Regions from separate parts of the Homo sapiens genome. Here region 2 is linked to region 1. Evidence: promoter capture Hi-C in human tissues and cell types (Jung and others, 2019). All regions are on one chromosome and are shown on one strand. Each heading gives the region's core, a stretch centred on a gene start or on the middle of the fragment in contact. The rest is flanking DNA. Distances are from core to core; before and after follow the strand shown.

Region 1 (6,867 bases), core at 4,368-6,867:
CTAAAGCATGTAGAATCTACGTAGTCTCCCTCTAAGGCCTCCAGTGGGATGGAGCCCTAGATGCCCGCAGCAGTAACCTGCTTGCAGGCATACCGTTGATTGTCTTTCTTTTCTTTCATCACACTTTCCCACTTCCTGCTAGTGTTTTCTGGGAGCACATCCCAAATGCACTATTTGCTCTTAAGTCCTTGTGGCAGGACCTGTTGTTGGTGGTGGTAGGGGCAGGGGATGGAGGGAACCTAAACTTACTCCCTGTAGGTAGGGCCACAGCTGTGTCTCCTTCCCCACCCTGCCTCTTGGGTACCCTTGTAGGAAATCCTTGCAGAGGGACCCTTGTAGAGGGTCAGTTAACCAGTTCCCGGGGTCCACACCCCTTCTGGTTTTCTTAGACATATGTTCTTCTCTGGTGTCAGGTTTCTGTGGCCGCTGTCCTCAAATCCTCCAGGCTCATGATCCTCCATAACATCTATACCAGATATGTCAGTGACCTCATATCTGCACCCAACTTCCCCTTCCAGATTTATCACCCTGTCCTGGCCCTGATGAGTGGGCAGTTGACAATGTGACCTGTTCACAGCTGATGGGACCCAAAGGGAGGCCACATCATAGACTAATTGAGCCAATCAGATACTCTCTCTAGGAATTTCAAATGAGAGACATAAAGAGAAGTTCTACCTGATAGTTGGCAATTTTCCAACACTGCTATTTTTGACTATGGGCTATTTTTATTTTTTTTTTTAAAAAAAGAATGCTCAAAAAGTATTTTCCTATTTAAAAAAATCACTGTCCTCTATCCCCTTAAGTACTAGATGAGCCCCTGCTTTAACCACCAGGTTTGCTGAGCTGAGGAGGATAAGAGGAAAGAATCCTCATGTCTCAATGCAACACAAAAACACTAAACTCAAAGTGTGAATAAAACCTGGTAGGCAGAAAGGCTCAACAAGGACTTAGTCAGTGGCCGGATTCTGTGCTGGATTCTGAGATGGCTGCTGAGATGTTTGAAACTTGATCACTGGCTTCATAACAATAATAATTCTAAGAATAGCCCCCACGTTTGGGGCATTGACTATGTCTGAATCGTTGCACCAGATGCCTTGAATATTGACAGCAACCTTATGGGGAAGCTGTGATTATAGAGTCAGGTCCAAAAGTTTAAAAAATTGAAATATCTGGATCCCTTCATGGACCCGCTGAATTGGGATTTCTAGAGATGAGACCCTGATAATACTGAGCTTCTCAGCTTATTCTGAGGATTTCCCTCCCCTCCCTCTGATCCCCAGTTAAGAATCTCCGTTCCAGGCAATAGGGAACTACAGCAAGTTCCAGAAGGCTAGCGGGAAATAATATAAAGAGTAGATCAGAAAGAGAGGGGAGTCAGGAAACTGGCTAGAATTAGGTCTAGGAGATGGGAGCTACTTCTGGGTAGGGACCTTCTAGGTGGGAAAGACTCTAAGTAAGTCTAGAAGGATCAAGCCACTGAGAGATGGCCACTGGATGAGTCAAGTCATTGCCTGCAGCATCCTCGGAGAGGAACACAGTGGAAAGTACCAGGATTCTGGAGTCAGACAAGGTGGGTTCAAGTCCTGGCTCTGCCACAAAGTAGCTGTATGACTTTAGGCAAGATACCAAATCCCACTAAACCTCAGCTTGCTCATTTGTAAAATAGGGATGTCCTACTTTGTTGAGTAGATATAAGAATTAAGGACCATGCAGTAGATATAAGAATTAAGGCATGAAATACACTATCTGCCACACAGCAAAGATGAAATACACAGCTGTTTTTATCCCGTTGCCCTTTAAGAAGGCAGTTTCAAAAGAAGCCAGTTTGTTTTGCCAGAGTTCTGAAGGGAATGGGTAGCTAGAAGCAGGAAGAGCAAACGTTGATATCATGTGTTTGAAGAGCTTGCCAACAAAGGGGAGAAGAAATGGGGCTGAGATAGAAGACAGAATGGGCAAGAAAATGACTTTCCTTAAAAGCAAGAGACCTTGCCCTCAGTTACCACTCTGGTTAGTGATAGAAAAAAACGCAGCTGGGAAGAGAAGACTGAAGGTGCTGGAGAGGACCCACCCAGAAGAAGAGAATGTTTTAGTGTTTTTAAAATTCCCATCGGGATCAGTTTGGCTTTCAAATAATTGACAAGTTGCCAAACCTAGAATTTGCTCTGGGCTGAGCAGATAGTCTTTTTATAAAACTTTTCCCCCCAGCTCAGCCACTGGTTATTTCAACAGAATGAGCTAACGGTTCTTAAATGGCACCATGAACTAAAAGTATAGTTTACAATGGAAATTTCAACCGCAACTATTATTGCCACTAGCAAGAGAAACTTAAGTCTGAAGCAAAAGGAGCTGTTTCGTAGAGGAGGAATGTGAATGCTATTAAAAATGGCACTTATACTAGAAATAGGTGAGGCAGTAAGAACATTCTAAAATGAGTGAGTTACAGAGCTGGCCATGAGGGGAAGAGAAACAGAGTGGTTATATCTTCAGAATACATTGATTGGTAGCATATAGAATAGTAACACAGGAAAGTAGGAATATCCCAGATTGAAGCCATTTGAAGATATGCTTCTTCCAATAATGACCGTACAAGTAGAGCTGCTTTGTCCTTCCCCTTAAGAAACTTCAACAGCTTGATTCAGCTGGAACATTGAAAATGCCAGGAAGTTACTTGAAAGGAGATTCATGATGCAACTATGTAAACAAATAATGCATCTGGCCCAGGTCCTTTTTGATTTTTCCCCTGAACAATGACTAAATACCAATTATCCTGTGTCTATGAGATTTAAGGGGCATTCTGGCAGTCTCCATAAAAAGTTAATACTAATAACCACAGTCTATAAACAATCTATTGTATTCTATTTTTGAAGATATCTAAAAGATACTTTTAGTATTTTAAGATTAATTTTTAATGGTTTAAGATATTTTAAAAGATAGATTCTATTGAGAATCTATCAGACACTGGTGGTGTTTTGTTATCATTCATACTGCTACTAGTAATATGATGATAATGATACCTGTTACTTATTTACAACCAACCATCATGTCATCCTTACAGCCACCTCACAATGAAGCTACCTGTATTACACGTGTTTTACTTAACCCCATTTTAGGCAGTCAGCGGATGGCCTGCCCTAGAACCACAGGCATCACAAGCTCAATTTAATGTGAAGCTGCAGAATTAAGAGACATTGGGGCCTATATGACTCCCTTCACCCTTTAATTGTTCCATGTCATGATAGTTTCACAATCACAGGAAACAAAGATCATGGATCTTGGGCTCTTGACCTGACCAGTGGATATTCAGGGATAGCTGCCCAACTCACTGATTTGCTTTACTTGCAGCATCTCATTTAATTCTCACCTTACCCTAAGAGGTGGACATTTCTCCACTTCAGACTCGGAACGCCACTGCCAGTAAGTGGCAGAGCAGGGACTGGATGAGGGAAGATCAGTCCCCACTGCCTCTTCTCCTGCCATGGTGTTCAACCTCTCTCATCCTGTACCCACTGCCAGCGAGGACACCTCTGGGAAAGAGTGGGGTAGAAGTGACAGCCCACATCTCCTCTGGTGGCAAACTTCAACCCCCCAACCTACACAGAGCCACATCTAGAGGGAGGAAAGCTGGGGTCTTGGCAAAATCCAGTCTGGATAACGCCCATGGAGAAGACCCCGTCACTAGGTCCTGCAGGGCCCCACACTGCTCTGCTCAAGAAGAGACTGAAGAGGCCCTTGCTGCTCTCTCTCCTCCCTCAGCAGAAGCTAACGTCAGAGGACCACGCTGCAGACTTTCTGAACAGTGGTGGGCACAAAAACATAGAGGTGACTTAGTCAGTCTTACCGGGAATCTGTGTGCAGGAGGGAAAGTCCTAGAACCTGGATAAGGAAAGCAGATGGCCTGCCCTAGAACCAGAGGCATCGCAAACTCCACTTAATTTGAAGCTTCAGAGTTAAGAGACATTGGGGCCTATCTGAATCCCTTCACCCTTTAATTGCTCCATGTCATGATTGTTTTGCAATCACAGGAAACAGAAAGATCATGGGTCTTGGGATCTGGGCCTGTCCAGTGGATATTCAAGGACAGCTGCCCATTTCACTGCCTCCCAAGCCAGTGTCCCCTTCACTGCAAACTCCACAGGCTAACTGTTGTGGAGTGGGAGGGGAAATAGCCCCAAACTACAAAGGGCTGCGGGGAGAAAGCAACTTCCCCCTGGAGACAAGGGCCAGCAGTTAAGGCTTTGCCCAAGGGGGATACCAAGCTGGAGACAGCAGGGATGTGAAGCCAGACCAGGGGCCAACCAGCCTGGACATTGGTTTCCTGCTGCCTCCTTCACTAGGACGGCTGGCTCCTCTCTATAGACACAGGCTACAGACAGATTGGGCCCAACAGCGCCCTCGTCTACCCACCCCAGGCACCAGGGACAGCTCCCCGCACCTGGACAGAGAGGGCTGGGCCAGTGACATCTCCTGCCCAGGTAGCCCTGGGCATGCGTGGGTGACCATCACAGAGGACAGAACAAGATGCCACCCACAGTGTTTAGACCTGGAGGTGATGGAGGGCAGAAGCTAGGCAAAGCTTTGCTAAGGTACGTGGTATCTGATAATAGTTGCTAAATACTGCGCACCTATTATTTGCCAGGTGCCCACACATATGACATTTAGTTTTCACAGGAAACTGAGGTGCAGGATATTAAGTGATTTGCCCAATGTCACCCTGCTACTGAGTGGCAGAGGAGGACCTGAGCCCAGGACAACTGCGAAGCACCGTTGGGTGGAGGGGGTATTGCCTCTCACATCCTCATCCGCCACTCATACAGTGCTGAGATTTAGGATTTCCATCTTCCCTCTCTGCCCCCACATTGCGTGAGAAGCAAGACAGCCCAGACAGACTGCCAGCAAAGCTCAGGGCTCTTTGCCTCTTTGTCCCTGCATGGCATCCTAACAAGCTCAAAGCATAACGGACAAGCTAGAACTTGGCGATGCCTGGAGCTTGTCCCGGGTTTCTGTGAAACCACAGTGCTGGAATACCAGGGGCCCTGCAAACCTCTGCTGACAATAGGGAAGGCCAACGGCATGCCTGACGCCAACTGCAGGCAGGTGGTGGCCCCAGCTACCTAGGGAGGGTCCAGTGCAGAGCCTCTCGGTGGACAGGCTCAGATCCAGACTTTTTGGCAAGGAGGCAAAACGAGGCGGGAGTAGGGATCACCGTGCGCTGCCTCCAGGTCACTCCGCATCTGCTGTCGGCCCTTCCCAGGCCCTGCGCGGGACCCGAGGTCCCTGGCCAGCGCTCTTCCATGCCTTCCCAGACTTCGCTGCCCCCAGTCTGGCGCTTCTCAGAGCCCCGCGCCGCCAGGGCGCACCCACCTCTTCCACCGCGCTGCGCAATTTGTGCTGCGTGTCCTCCATCAGTTCCTCAACCTCGCGGAACATCTCATTGAGGGTGGCCTCCTCCTGCGGGTAGCTGAGAGCCGGGCCGGGCTTGACTGGAGCCGAGGTCGCCGTCGGAGCGGGCGCGGGGGCCGTGGGGACCGCCGCCGCCAGCAGCAGGCACAGCAGGGTGGCCCCAAGCCGCTGCATCTCCGCTCTGCGCCCGCAGCCGCCGCCTGTGTGTCCCGGAACGCGATCAGAGGCGCGCGGACCACCCCCCTCGCTGGGCCCGCCGCCCCGCCCCGTTCCGCCCCGCCGCCCGCCCCTGGCGCCCCTCTTTCCCGCACCCGCCCGGAGACGGGAGGAAACCGAGGCCCCTGAAAACGCAGCTCCCCTACACCCGAAAAGACGCGACCCCACCCGCTCCAGCCCGAGCCCCGATCGCCCCAGGACCCCGCACCCCCATCCTCGAGCACAAGCTGAGCTCTGCTCCTCACCTGTGATGCTGGAGCCCTCGCCAGAGCAACCGAACCCGGATCCTCTACGCTAATAGCTCCCAAGCCCCAGCTCACCTAGACTCTGTCCCCGGTTCAAACCCTAGCCCCTCCTCGACCAGGTCAGAGTGCCCGACCCCCACTTCCACCTCAAGCCTCTCTCAGCCCCTACCTGGGGTGGACCAAGCACAGGTCAGCCCCCTCCCCTTGGCGTCGGGTCCTACTCGAGCGCCCCGCCCCACATCCACCAAGAGAGGCTGAGCTCAGCAGAGTCGTCCCCTCCCCCGCCGCCGCCCCTCACCCACCCCGACTGGACCGAGTTGCGCTGCGGGCCGGACTGGATCTGCTCGCTCCCGCCGGGAGGCCGCCGGGCTGCGGGTGCAGATGCGGGAGCGGCGCGGTGGGCGGGCCGCGGGTGCGGGAGCGCGGCGGGGTGCGGCAGCGCCGGTACCCGAGGGAGCCCGCAAGACGCGCCCCGCCCGCCCACCAGGCTCCCTCTCCGCCCCCGCCCCGAGCCCCGCCCGCCCACCAGGCCCACCCCGCCCCGCGGAGGGGCCGCAGCCCGGCCATTGGCCAGCCGGGGCGCCGGCCACCTCACGCCCCACGCCCCACGCCCTCCTCTTCTGCCTCAGCGACCAGCTCTACCGAAGGCAGCCATCTCCTTCACTGCCTGCCCCTGCGCCCGCGGCATCCCAGGCCCGTCTTCTCTGGCCTCCAGGCTTGCAACAGCCCACCGAGGTTGGGGGTAGGGGGAATGTTCCTCAGTCCCACCTTGGTCTTTCCAAGCCAACCTCTGTCCTGTGAAATCCTCAGGAAAAATCCCAGCCCCCAGCCTGGCATTCAAGCCATCACCGCTGGCCTTAGTCTGCCGTGATTGACACCGTGCTCCAGCCAGGATAACGCACTTGCAGCTCCTGGAATGGGAGAACGTCATGAGAAAGTCAGCAAGCTCCTCAAGGGTGGCATAGAGGAGTGGTCAGGACCAGACACCTGCAGCCAGCTCTGCTCC
Region 2 (7,465 bases), core at 279-2,778, 110 kb after region 1:
GAGCAGAATGGGGGTTGGGTGCTGTGTGTAGAGTCTGTGGCTGCTGTCAAATCAGCTCCATGTATCAGGACAGCCAGGCTTTGCACAATCTGATGCAAAGGTAGTAAGATCAGGATCTCCCTGCTTGTAAGAAGGAGGCTACATCATTTGTCTGATGACTAAATGAAAGGAAAACAGAATAGAGAAACACACAAGGGGATTTCCAACCTCTTTCCAGACCCTCAGGGAGAGGATTCACTCAGCCTTTTTCTTCAGGGAATGTCCTGTGAGGCTCATGCAGTTGGAGCCTTGGGGACCATGGGGTCCATGTCGGGAGAGCTTCCCGGCCACATGCCTGGAGTTGCCACACATTACTGTTGTGAAGGAGGAGTAGGAGGAAGCACTGTGTGAAATTTCAGGCTTCTTCTGGATTCCAGGTTTGCCCCAACCAGATGACCTAGAAGGTCTTGCTTGGGCGTGTTGGTTATCTTGTATCTTGGGCTTTCTTAAAAGTGACTTACCCACACATACATACATATGTGTGTGGTACTCATCCCACACATACATAGATGCATAGGACTTACCTTCACACGCACACATAGATGCACGGTAAGATATCCACTCAGTACAAAGGAAATTGAATGAAAAGTACATCTCCCTTCTTTCCCTGTCCTCCAGCCCTCAGTTCTTACTTTTTTGGCAGCTGTTGTCCCCAGCCCCCTGTGGATCCTTCCAGACATAGTCTAGGCATGTCCTGGTGCCTGTTCCCCTTCTGCTCTTCCTGCGGCCTGCTGAAGAAGCAACCAGGATGTAAAGAGACAGGGCCCACAGGGCTGCAGAGACTTGGCCATTGTCTCATTTGGCCAAGGCCTAACCATTTCCCCTTCCACTCTACTTTGCCAGCTCTCTCCTTTAGGAGTCCCCTTGTGTTCGATTTGGGGGTTCAAAGAGCCTGGAATCTGAGAATAAACCTCAGGGGCATGTTGTGGATGCAGGTGACATAGGCAAAAACAAAAAGCACTAAGACAGACCTGGGCTCAAATCCGAGCCCTGTGGCCTTGGGCGAGTTAATGAATCCTAGTATTTTAGTCTACATAAAGGAGGTAATTATACCTATTACAAGAGCTTGATCTGGAGATGAAATTAAAATATTTGTGAAGTCCCTTGCCTGGATATGCACTCCAAAATGTCAGGGTTTTTGTTGTTGTTGTTGTTTTGTTTTTTCACATTTAACGAGTGACCCATTGCCAGAATGAATGACACTGGTATGGAGTCCTCTGGATGGCTTTCTGAAAATCCTCTAGGTGGGTTCCTGAGCTTTTCTTTCCCTGCAGAAGGCAGCCAGTTCTCCATTTTCTACCAAGTTGAGTTGGCCCCACTACTTCCTCCTCCTGTAGGGAGCCAACCTCCATCCTTCCCAGCCACTGGATACCACCTCCTCCTCTGCCCTTGACCCCTGAACCCTCTTCTCCGTTTCCCTGGGCTCTGGGTTCCCCCCTCCTCCCCTCGTGAACAGGATGCTGCCTGCCGCCTGGAGAGTGCTGTGGGCTGTTTATGGCTGCTCTCTGGGGTGTTTATGTTGTATCTCTTCAGAAGCTCCTAGCAGATGTCTGTTTATTGCTGAAACTTCATCTACGGCATGAGAGGAGAGAGGCTATTTTTAAAGATCTTTAATTGGCATGGCTGCACAATACAGCTTAGATTGCCTCCAAGTTTAATTCTTCATCGCTCTTATGCTCTATCCATTATGAAACCCTTCAAATCCAGCCTGAGAGACCTTATATGTCCTGATTTTAGAGCAGCACTTAAATTCAGCAGACAGTTGTAATCTCTAAAAAAGGTAGGCCAAGGAGGTGAAGGCAACTGGCTGACTGTCTTTTGTCTAGGCCGAGACAGATGGCATGAATGAGAGCATAGAATGCAACACCTTTCCCCCACTTCTGCCCCTTCTTTCCACCTGCAGTGGTTGAGGCCCGCCCTCATAGGCCGCCTGCGGATTGGCTGGGAGATCTCTAGCTCTCCCTTTCCCTTTGGACTCAGGTGGGGCTTGAGAGTGGGGTAGTTTCAAATGACACTGACCTCCCAGGAGGGAGGAGGCCACAGAGGCCATGAGTCACAGAGCCTTGGGATGTCAGGTTGGATGGGCCTCATGGGATGGTGTAGTTCTCATCCTGGCCACCTTGTTTTACCTATGGAGAAACTGACACTCGGATGCTTCCTGATGCTGAGTGGACAGAGAGGTGTGTTTCTTGCTCAAGGTCACCCAGCCAGGTCAGAGTCAGGTCTCTTTTCCATCTACCATTTCCCACCAGGCTGTGGTCCTTGATCAGTCTAAGGCAGCTGTGCTTACAGTTGGCTGCGTGTACCGAAGGACAGAGCCTCATCCTCCCTTTCTAAAACCTCCCACATTCTTTGAATTTATGCTGTGTACGCTTGTAGCACTGGCTGGTCTCAGTCCCAAGATCTTTTCTTATCATGAACACCTCCCCCAGAGCCTTGGGGCTTAGAATTCCCACCTTTGTTCCTAGCCCTTGTCCGCAGAAGCCCTTTGTTAAAAATACAGAAGTTAACTGGGAAGGACCATATGTTGACAGAGATGAGTTTATCTTTGATTAGCTGTCAGCCAAGGGCTGAACCTTAAGAGGATGGGGCATAGGATGAGTCAGCTGGGAACAGGAGGAGGAGGGAATCCTGAGAGATGGCAAATAGGGTGCTGGGGGCATCAACAGCCATAGGCCCAGGCTCGGAGCTCACAGTGTGCAGCTGCTGGGCTAGAGTCCCTGTGATGACTGGTGGAAGCTGCCTGCTCTTCTAACTCATGGAGGGAGGTGCATTAGACAAGCTCACCTGTGGCTGAACACCGAGACAGAGTATGGAATGTCCACAGAGTCCCACAGTAGGGGGGAACCAGGGGAGGCTTCCTGGAGGAGGTGGAGTTTGTAGATTGAGAAGGGTATTGGAAGATAGGTATGATTTCCATAGGCAGAGATGGGCAGAGGTAACAGCACAAAGAGATGTAGAAAAGTGAGGGCACAGTCAGGGTACCATGTGGTAGAAACGTGAGGGCTGCCTAGAGAAGCTGAGGCTGGAATCAGGCTGCTCTGAGGCATGGAGAGCCCTGAGTTCTGGGGGCGGTGTGGGTGTGGACTGAACCCAGCGGACTGTGGGAAGCTGTCAGAGAGGGATAGTCAGAGTCATCCTTCAGGGCACTGCCCTCCGTTCACGGGAGGTGCACACTGCCAGACAGCTGCCATTCCCCTGGACTGAGGAGGGCTGTGGGGAACAGGGTGGGGGGCAGTAAGGCTGGGCCCCCAAAAAGACTTTGTCTGTATCCTGGCTTTTGACCCACAGCCTTCTTTGTGAAGGGAGTCTGCAAGCAAAATGTTGTCTTTGGTTTATCAGGAGGGCAGCCCTTTTTGGAACTCCTGGTTAGGGTCTTAGGATATGGGACATCTGTCACATTCTGCAGCTTGTACACCCAAGTGTGGCTGTCTGAGCTTTGGTGGCTCTTGACTCTGTGTAGCAAACAGCGTCTGCTTCACTTTCACCACCTCGCTGCGGGCTAAGCTCTTCACACGGATCTTCTCCTGACTCAAGGTCAATTTGAGGGGAATAAATAGGGCAGTCGAGGTGCTGAGCTCCTCTGGGGGCTACTGCTGGAGCAGGAGCAGGAGTTCCCTGTCTGTGTGTGAGGGAGGCAGCAAAGCTGGGATGGTGCAGGAACCCAGCTGACCACCTCCTCCAAAGAAAGCGCCTTTGGAAGAATTGGCTCTGTAGGAGTCAGCGGCTGTCAGAGCATTTGTACATCATCTGGAATGATGCTGATTCTCTCCTCTGCACAGCCTCACAATCACCTGAATATCCCCTTCAAGTGCATCCTGCCCTGGGTTTCCTGTGTGCACATTGAGTTTCCTTCTCTAGTTGAAGAGAGAGTTTGCAGAGGCTGGCAAACCTGGAGCTGGACTGAATGGCCTGGACAGGTGGAGCAGGTAGGGGGTTGGTTGCCTCCCAGCCCTCTGGCCATCGTGGCCACAGGGAGGTGGATAAAGGCTGAGCTCTGCTTCCGCCTGCTCCCGTGTTAAGCTGGCAGATGGGAGGCACCACAGCCTGGTGCATTTTCAGCTTTGACATTTGAGCGGGGCTGGCACCTGTTCTCTTCCATGTATGTCTCAGGGACACTTTTGCTTTATGTGATGGAATAAATTGTTCCCGCAAGCAGCAAATGTAATGAGTTTAGTGCTATTGATGGGAGGTATTGATGGGATTTGGGGTGGGGCACTGAAATGGGCTTGCTTTCTTTTTTCTCCTAGGATCAGTGCTACCCATATGAGAACAAGCTGATTTGTTCACTGATTGATAAATTGATTGCTCAGTGCATTCATTCTGTCAGCCAAGATTTTTGGAGTACTCTCAATTTGAAGCATGCTGTCACAGACAGACCATGGGTTTTCAGTCACTGTAAACACTGGACAAGCCACACACATACTATCTCTGAACCTTGGGTTTGTTCTCTGTAAAATGGGAGTGATGCTACTTACCTCACGGGGAGGTTGTGAGGATTAAATGGGGTAATGGGCGTAGCACACCTCTCATGGTGCCTGGCACATAGTGGCCTGCAGGTGGCCTCTTCCCCTCTGGCTCATTCCTGAATTGGCCCACAGGAGCCTTGGAGCACAGATGTGGGCAGGGTTCCTTGTTGCCGCAGGCCTCTCATTCGGTACTGGCCCCTAAGTGCCTTTTACCTTTAATAACTTTTAATTGTTTTTTAAAGACAAGAGTCTCACTCCGTCACCCAGGCTGCAGTGTAGTGCGATCCTGGCTCACTGCAACCTCTGCTTCCCAGGTTCAAGCAATTCTCCTGCCTCAGCCTCCCGAGTAGCTGGGATTACAGGCATGTGTCACCACGCCTGGCTAATTTTTGTATTTTTAGTAGAGACAAGGTTTCTCCATGTTGGCCAGGCTGATCTCAACCTCCTGACCTCAAGTGATCTGCCTGCCTCAGCTTCCCAAAGTGCTGGGATTACAGGAGTGAGCCACCGCGCCTGGCCTGCCTTTAATGACTTTTTAAAGGGAATGGCTCAGTCAAAGCACCTGTGTGTGCAGTGAAGAACGATGGGCCACCTTTCGCTTCCTGGTGAGAAGTTCTTCTCATAAACCTTGGAACTGCAGGTCTGGGAGAGCCTTATCATCAATCCCACTGGATGCTTGACTCCACAGTGGTGGTTTAGCCTGAGTTTATAGGTGGGAGGTGATCCATCCTGTCTTTGAACTCCTCCTTCCTGATGGCTTCCTATAGCTTCTGGCATTTGGTCCCAGTTCTTCCCCTTGGGTGCCATGGAGAGTAGGTCTAATCTGTCTACCACCCAATAGCTCTTCAGAAATTGTTTTTTTTTAATCAAATCTCTAACACCATCAACTGAAAGATATACCATTATTTCATGTACCCTCAAGAAAGAAAAAGAGCTGCCAATTAAACTGTGGCACAATGCTTTGCCATTGCTTAAAATTTTTATTCTATATTTTCTGAATTTTTTAAGATTTTAGACATACTTTTTTTATTTTATATCACTCTTGCATATATATAAAAGTAAATTGGTTAAGGCATTTCTAAAACTTCGCTTTCAGAATCTAACTCTTCTGAATCACTTTTTGACTGAGATTCATCAATGTCCATGGTTTTCTGACTCACTGTTCTCTTCTAGTCAGGTGGGGATGTATTTCTTCATCTCTCTTGTCCCTGGAATTTTTTCCAGCTGCTGACACCCATTATGTCAGTTCTGGTGTTTTCTTGATTTTACCAGAAGGCATCAATGAAAGTTTTTTTGTTAACAACCAGGACTCACATTCCTTCCTTAAATGGTCCTTAAAAGTATTGGCTCCTGAAATGTTTTAGATCATGGTTGTTCAGATATGCCACCAGGAATGAGTCAAATTTCCATATGTGAGGCGGTGACAGCTATGCCACAGCTGCATCCCGGGAGAGATCGTTAGGTTTCAGGGGGTTTTAAGACACATTCTGCTTTCAGACATTTTATAATGGGAAAAATGCATTTCTGATCAGTGAAATACGTTATTTAAAGACAGCCCTCTGTTTCTCTCCTGCATCTTCTTCCAGATTAACAACCCACAGTGTGGGTTCAGGATTTTTACCTTCTCTGTGGTTTTCCTCTGAACATGCCTTAGTTTGTTCAGATCTTTTTATACAGCGAAGGCAGTGTCCAGACCATATATTGTATTTATGGTATGAGGACAGCAGAAGAAGGGAGCTATCACCTCCAGTTCCGGACATTCTGCTTCTCTTAATGCAGCCCAAGACTCTATGAGCTTTGCTGGCAGCAGCATCACATCACAGACGTTACTGCTGACTAGGTCTTTTTAACATGTGCTGTTGCTAAGCTGCTTCTCCCCTGTCCTAAACTTGTGTGGCTTTAGAATTTAAAGGCAGAGCCTCCTATTTTGCTCCTGCTTGATTCAGAATGATCATTCCTGTTAAGTTTCAACTTGTTAAATTCAGTGCAGCCCTGTTCCATTGATCAGAATCCTATTTAAGTATGCCTTCCACAGCGTCACCCAAGTCATGATAAATGCTTATCGAAGGGACCCCTCTGTCACACTCCTGGAGACCTCCCCTCAGTGGACTTGCGATCTTTGACCGACTGACTTTGGGAAGAGTGATTGAAGCCGCCCCTAGCCTAGTCTCTGTCCTTTTGCTTCTCTGACCTAAGACGCCTTTCTGAAGCTAGATAGGCCATGCCCATTGCAGTTCTGCATCTACTATCAAGTGCTTCATCAAAAAGGACATGAACAGCCTTAACGTTACGTGTTCTCAGCTCCTCGAGGGCTCCAAGGTTGCTTTCAGCTGTTCCTGGGCTGCTCCCCAGAGATTGCACCAGGCAGCTTAGCATCTCATCTGTGAACGTTTTCCGTGCTCTGGGAGGTCACTTTCCCGGGCTAGGGGACTTGAAGTCATTGCAAATGTCTAAATATCCTTTTTAAAAAACAAAACAAAAACACTAAACCCCTATCTCCACTCTACTCTTCATTCCAGTGTTGGTTCTTTGCTCCCCTGTCCTGGTCTCCTCAATTGTTTGGCTGGAGTTGCATTCAGAGTCCAAGTCATTAACTTCCTCCACCTCGCATCTAGCAGCTCTTCTGATCTCCCAGCCACTTGAAGTCTGTGTTCTTTGAGTCTCCAGCACCAACTTCCCCTTCTTGGTCTTTTGCTAATTTCACAGGAAATGATTGTTTTTCCTCCACAGTTCCTGTGTCCTTCTGGTCACTAACCCATTCCACCATTGTTGTGGGAATTAGGGAACTAGGTTAGTCCCTGTTTCTATGGACACATCCTCTCTCTTCTAGATGATGAAACTCTCTGCAAAGCCAGGCTTAGCCTTTAGCCACTGGGGCTTCCTGCGCTCTCAGGGTGTCTGATCTCAGCCCCACCCGCCAGAGCTCATCTCTGGCTAGCCTGGGATCTGTATCAGCA

The links. The method cuts DNA at HindIII sites, captures the fragments that hold promoters and counts their contacts. A contact is called where the count stands out against the background at its distance.
Region 2: a fragment that was not itself captured here is called in contact with the fragment with the promoter of DKK3 in region 1 in 2 of the 25 tissues and cell types used here (adrenal gland and thymus).

Annotation. Positions count from the first base shown.
Region 1 is chr11:12,003,009-12,009,875 of GRCh38, forward strand. It overlaps DKK3 (dickkopf Wnt signaling pathway inhibitor 3), which reads right to left and starts at 5,618. Exons shown (of 7, transcript NM_001018057.2): 1 at 5,362-5,618. The coding sequence starts at 5,574. RefSeq lists an enhancer at 3,870-4,805. The HindIII fragment of the contact is 8,758 bases long and covers 4,257-6,867 here.
Region 2 is chr11:12,117,682-12,125,146 of GRCh38, forward strand. All of the region lies in intron 1 of MICAL2 (microtubule associated monooxygenase, calponin and LIM domain containing 2), which reads left to right. Among named protein-coding and RNA genes, the nearest start is that of MICAL2, 11 kb to the left of the region's middle. The HindIII fragment of the contact is 5,960 bases long and covers 1-4,508 here.